Regions from separate parts of the Homo sapiens genome. Here region 1 is linked to region 2. The links are contacts of gene promoters, found by promoter capture Hi-C in blood cells and fetal thymus (Javierre and others, 2016). All regions are on one chromosome and are shown on one strand. Each heading gives the region's core, a stretch centred on a gene start or on the middle of the fragment in contact. The rest is flanking DNA. Distances are from core to core; before and after follow the strand shown. Region 1 has its middle 17 kb from the start of ERRFI1. Region 2 holds the start of ENO1 (enolase 1).

Region 1 (2,821 bases), core at 71-2,570, 870 kb after region 2:
AGGAGGAGGAGGGGCCTGGAAAAGTGTAGTGGGTGCCACTGAAAGATCCTAAGCAGGAGAGGAAGGTGATGTGATTTAAGAGGACAGTGGCTGTTGTGTGGAGGACAGATCGGAGAGAAGCAAAAGGAAACGGGAAGACTTAATGGACAGAGGCTACTGTAGTCCTGAACTGAGACAAGACTGCCTTGGCCAGTGGAGATGGAGAAAAACAGTAAAAGATACCTGGGAGTAGTAGAAACAGTTAAGTTCCAGATCACGCAGGCCCGTGTGCGCGGCACCCTGGCCAAAGAGGGACAGCTCCCCAAGCGCAGGGACTCAGCTTCCTGTGCACTGTCATGACGCACTGCCTGACCCAGGGGTGCAGTAAGTCCCTGCTGACTGGATGTCTGAATGCAGCACTTGCAGAACTTTGTCTGCTTCTGAGACTTTTTGCCTCTCCCCTCCCCTCCACTACCTTTTCTTGGTCATATGGTCAAGAATATGTTTCATTAGTTCTGTTTGCTTTCCATCTTACCTTTGTATTTTTACTTGTGTTTGCAAGCATATACCTTTTCCCTGATTTTTCCTGGCTAAGCAAATGTGCCTAGCCGCCATGCCAATGCCACACTACCACCGGAACACATCCCCTAGCACCTTCTGCCTGTCAACTTATTCCTCAACCAGCACACAAAGCAAGTTAATTCTAAAGAGTTCTCGTGGCATAGGTCAAGCCCGGGACTTCTGACACTCTTCTCTGTTGCTAAGTAAGATGCCAATAGGAAATCAGCTGCGTGTTAGCTGCCACTTTATGCACTGTTGAGTTCTCAAAGATGGTTATGTCACACAACAAAGTACTGGCCTAAAACCCAGGTTCCTGTCTTGACTTCTCCCTTTTTTTTTTTAGACACAGAGTCTTCTTGCTCTTGTCACCCCAGGCTCCAGGCTAGAGTGCAGTAGCACCAATCTTGGCTCACCGCAACCTCCGTCTCCCGGGTTCAAGCGATTCTCCCTGCCTCAGCCTCTCAAGTAGCTGGGATTATAGGCAGGCGCCACCACGCCTGGCTAATTTTGCATTTTTTTAGTAGAGATAGGGTTTCTCCATGTTGGTCAGGCTGGTCTTGAACTCCCAATCTCAGGTGATCCGCCTGCCTCGGCCTCCCAAGGTGCTGGGATTACAGGTGTGAGCCACCACGCCTGGCTGACCTCCCACTTTCTATAGGAAGGATTCACTTCACTTCCCTGAGCTTTAAGTTCCTTGTCAGTATATGTGAGGCCATGCCAGAGCGCACTGTAGTGCTATGCACACCTAAGGGACTGGTTAGTAGATACCATTTCGTGGCAGCAAACAGAAGCCGAGGATAAGGGGGCTCTCTTACAAGTGAATTCAAAATTTGGGTTAATAGTAAATGTCAGTTTTTTGTTTTTTTGTTTTGAGGCAAAGTCTTCGTCACCCAGGCTGGAGTGCAGTGGCACCATCTGGGCTCACTGCAACCTCTGCCTCCAGGGTTCTAGCGATTCTCCTGCCTCAGCCTTCCGATCAACTGGGATTACAGGCACCTGCCACCACGCCCGGCTAATTTTTGTATTTTTAGTACAGACGGGGTTTCACCATGTTGGCCAGGCTGGTCTCGAACTCCTAACCTTAGGTGATCCACCCACCTCAGCCTCCCAGAGTGCTGGGATTATAGGCGTGGGCCACTGCGCCCAGCCAATTTTGTCAGTTCTTATGCTGCAACAGTCAAGTATGTGATGTGTATCCTCTTGTTTTTAATAAATTCCAAAAACACACTAATGGAAGTTTAATACTGTTTGTTGCTTATCCATCTCTAGGTCTCAAGAGATGTCTTAACTATGCTGTGAAAAGTAAGAACTCTCTTTAAGAGGATGTTTCTTGGCTGGGTGCGGTGGCTCACGCCTGTAATCCCAGCACTTTGGTAGGCCAGGGCGGGTGGATCACCTAAGGTCAGGAGTTCAAGACCAGCCTGACCAACATGGTGAAACCCCATCTCTACTAAATACAAAAAAATTAGCTGGGCGTGGTGGCTCATGCCTGTAATCCCAGCCACTTGGGAGGCTGAGGCAGGAGAATCACTAAAACCCGGGAGGCGGAGATTTGCAGTGAGCTGAGATTAAGCCACTGCACTCCAGCCTGGACAACAACAGTGAAACTCCGTCTCAAAAAAAAAGAGGATGCTTCTTCACTATTAGGGACCCTAAAAAATAAAATAAAAGGCCATAGAGTTTCATCTTCCAGAGCAATTCACAGTTGACTAGAGAAAAGCCATATTCATATATCTACTGGTTCAAGAATCAACATGTATTTTAAGCTAGTCTCTATTTTGGTTCTTAATTTCATCACATAATTAATAGTTTTAGGATATACTGGAGCTTTTCTCTTAAAAATAAGTAAAGCTCCTAGCACAGTTTTGTATTTCTTATATAGTTTTTTTTTAACTTTTCATCTTGATGTAATTATACACTCAAAAGAAGTTGCAAAATAGATCCCCTATGCCCATTACCCAGATTCCCCCAGTGATGACATAGAATTTATCAAAATCAGGAAACTGACATTGGCACAATACTCATGTAGGATTTTATCTGGAAGTAGTTACTATCAAAATGAACTTAGGTGCTACTTTTTCAAATTAATTTAGAAATTAATTTTGGCCTTCTGGCATTTTGTAAAAAGCTAATAAAACTCTAAAAATATGTTGTCAGGCTGGGCATGGTGGCTCACGCCTGTAATCCCAGCACTTTGGGAGGCCGAGGCGGGCGGATCACCTGAGGTTGGGAGCTTGAGACCAGCCTGGCCAATGTGGAGAAACCCCATCTCTACTAAAAA
Region 2 (3,076 bases), core at 113-2,612:
GAAAGCAAATACTATGGTCTCAATAGGCCTTAATTTTTAACCAACGCCATGGAAACCTGTCTGTAGCTAAGAGGATAAAAATGCTAGGGGTTAAGGAAGAAAAGCAGGTTTTGCAGCTGACCAGAAGAAATAATTAAATTCAAGTACATATTTGAACACCTCTTTACAAGGAAATGAGGAAAATCAGATGTTTTAGTTCTCTTACAGACCAGCAGTAATGTTGAAAAATATAAAAGTAGCCGTAACAGAAAACGAAGTGATCATCTCAGCCCTCCCTTGGAGTGGGGGGATATATTGCGGAGCTGAGTTTTAATGGCTATCAGTTCTTGATCAGAAAAGTGAAATCACTCCAACTCCTTCCGTATTCCACGGAATATGACCCGTCTTGAACTTTGAGAAATTCCCCGGGTCTGTGTGAAATTCCAGTTCCAAATAATTCACATGAATGGTTCACAAGAATCCAGGTAGGTTTGATCTAGTTCCCTAGATGGGAATGAGAGGGATGTAAAATTTGAGAGGCAACATGACATGGACTAGAGAGAGAATGAATTAACACTGGGGAAGCACGTGGGGGCGCGCCGGACACCTAGAAGGCACTCAAAAAGTATGAGGTAGAATTAAAGGAAAGTGAACCTTCCTTTGGCTGTCTCGGCCTGATTCTCACCGCAGCAAGGAGAAAGGGACAGGGTCACCTTGGCGGGTGCCAGGCGGAGCCCGGCCAGACGGGCGCGGCTGGAGGGCAGCGCGCAGGCGCAGGCGGCGCACGTGGCCCCGGACACGCAGCGCTGCGGCGGGGCCAGCGCCCCAACCCCGGAGTGGGGCCGAGGCGCGCAGCCTCTCAACGACTCGACGCCAACGGGGTCTCTCGGATCGCGGCGCGAGGCAGGAGGGGCGGGGCAGGAGGGCCGCGGCAGGCCCGGGCCGCCAAAGTTGTCAGCAAGGTCGAGGGCCGGACGTGGGGCCCCAGAGCGACGCTGAGTGCGTGCGGGACTCGGAGTACGTGACGGAGCCCCGAGCTCTCATGCCCGCCACGCCGCCCCGGGCCATCCCCCGGAGCCCCGGCTCCGCACACCCCAGTTCGGCTCACCGGTCCTATCTGGGGCCAGAGTTTCGCCCGCACCACTACAGGGCCGCTGGGGAGTCGGGGCCCCCCAGATCTGCCCGCCTCAAGTCCGCGGGACGTCACCCCCCTTTCCACGCTACTGCAGCCGTCGCAGTCCCACCCCTTTCCGGGAGGTGAGGGAATGAGTGACGGCTCTCCCGACGAATGGCGAGGCGGAGCTGAGGGGGCGTGCCCCGGAGGCGGGAAGTGGGTGGGGCTCGCCTTAGCTAGGCAGGAAGTCGGCGCGGGCGGCGCGGACAGTATCTGTGGGTACCCGGAGCACGGAGATCTCGCCGGCTTTACGTTCACCTCGGTGTCTGCAGCACCCTCCGCTTCCTCTCCTAGGCGACGAGACCCAGTGGCTAGGTAATGATTGGGGAAGGGCTGAGCAACGGGCAGGCGGCGCAGGGCTTTTCTGGGCTTGTGGGGCTCTTTTCCCTCCGAGGGAGGCGGCGCGCCCGCAGGCCCAGCGTGGCGGGGTCGGGGGCACGTGCAAGCCGCCTCCCTGGGTGGGAACTGGCGCCCCCGCTCACCCCGAGGCCCGGGGCGGGGGCGCAATGCCAGGCGCACGTGCTGGGCCCCCGATTTCTTTGGAGGGGAAAGTGCAGATCAACACGTGATTACCGACTGCGGGGCCGAGTCACTGTCAGGGAAGGTCGGGAGCTGCACACGCGAGCTGCTTAGCACAGCGGGAGTTGGGAGTGGAAGTTGCTTTTCCATCGTAGCCAAGTGTAAGGTTTTTGGGATAGACGCAGACTTAGCGGCGGTGGCCACTCAGGCCAGGCCCTTCCTAAAATGGAGGAGGGCGGCGATAGTGGAGATGGCCACGAGGCTGCGGCCCCCTCCCCCACCGGTAGCCCCCGCCTCTCGCCCGCGCTCGCGGCCCGCGCTTCTGCCTAGTAAGCGGTGACTCATTTAACTCCGAGAAGGCACCTCTTGAGGAACCTACAGCAGAGCCGTTAGATCATTGGCAAGTCCTCCAGGCGACCTCGCCCAAGTTGGGCAAGAGCGGCTCCCCGGCTGGCCACCAAAAATCGGGCCTGATCTGATTTGGTTTTTTTTTTTTTTTGAGTTTTGCTATTGTTGCCCAGGCTGGAGTGCAATTGCGCGATCTCGGATCTCGGTTCACCGCAACCTCGGCCTCCTGGGTTCAAGCGATTCTCCTACCTCAGCCTCCCGAGTAGCTGGGATTACAGGCATGCGCCACCACGCCCGGCTAATTTTGTTTTTTTTTTGTTGTTGTTGTTGTTTTAGTAGAGGCGGTGTTTCACCATGTTGGCCAGGCTGGTCTTGAGCTCCCGACCTCAGGTGATCCGCCCGCCTCGGCCTCCCAAAGTGCTGGGATTACAGGCGTGAGCCACCGCGCTAGGCCAAGAAGGATGTATTTTAAGAAAGCTTCCTGTTCAATGTTCCCCTGCTCTGTGCGCTTCTCTGGGCGGTAGGGTCCATTGCTTCACTTGCCTTTCAGGCCCACCCGGGCCCTGACTGCTCCATTCATTTACCGTGTCCCTAATTCGGGGTTCCATCCAGGCAGCTAAAAAAGCTGTGAATGGTCCGGGCGCGGTGGCTCACGCCTGTAATCCGAGCACTTTGGGATGCCGAGGTGGGCCTCCTCAGGATCACCTGAGGTCGGGAGTTAGAGACCAGCCTGACCAACGTGGTGAAACCCCGTCTCTACTGAAAATACAAAAATCGACCAGGCGCGGTGGCTCACGCCTGTAATCCTAGCACTTTGGGAGGCCGAGGTGGGTGGCTCACGAGGTCAGGAGATCGAGACCATCCTACTCTACTAAACCCCATCTCTACTAAAAATACAAAAAATTAGCCGGGTGTGGTGGTGGGCGCCTGTAGTCCCAGCTACTCTGGAGGCGGAGCCTGCAGTGAGTCGAGATCGTGTCACTGCACTCTAGCCTGGGCGAAAGAGCGCGACTCCGTCTCAAAAAAAAAAAAAAATCACCTGGGCGTAATGGCAGG

What was found. The method cuts DNA at HindIII sites, captures the fragments that hold promoters and counts their contacts. A CHiCAGO score of 5 or more calls a contact.
Region 1: a contact is called between a fragment that was not itself captured here and the fragment with the promoter of ENO1 in region 2, in 1 of 17 cell types (total B cells). The highest score is 5.2, in total B cells.

Annotation. Positions count from the first base shown.
Region 1 is chr1:8,007,679-8,010,499 of GRCh38, reverse strand. No RefSeq gene overlaps it. Among named protein-coding and RNA genes, the nearest start is that of ERRFI1, 17 kb to the left of the region's middle. RefSeq lists a silencer at 577-871. The HindIII fragment of the contact is 5,423 bases long and covers 1-2,821 here.
Region 2 is chr1:8,876,972-8,880,047 of GRCh38, reverse strand. ENO1 (enolase 1) reads left to right here and starts at 1,362. Exons shown (of 12, transcript NM_001428.5): 1 at 1,362-1,468. ENO1-AS1 (ENO1 antisense RNA 1) reads right to left here and starts at 1,213. Exons shown (of 2, transcript NR_038351.1): 1 at 1,088-1,213; 2 at 163-483. RefSeq lists silencers at 639-888, 1,609-1,658, 1,869-1,988 and enhancers at 747-1,338, 1,339-1,932, 1,933-2,525. The HindIII fragment of the contact is 3,104 bases long and covers 1-2,499 here.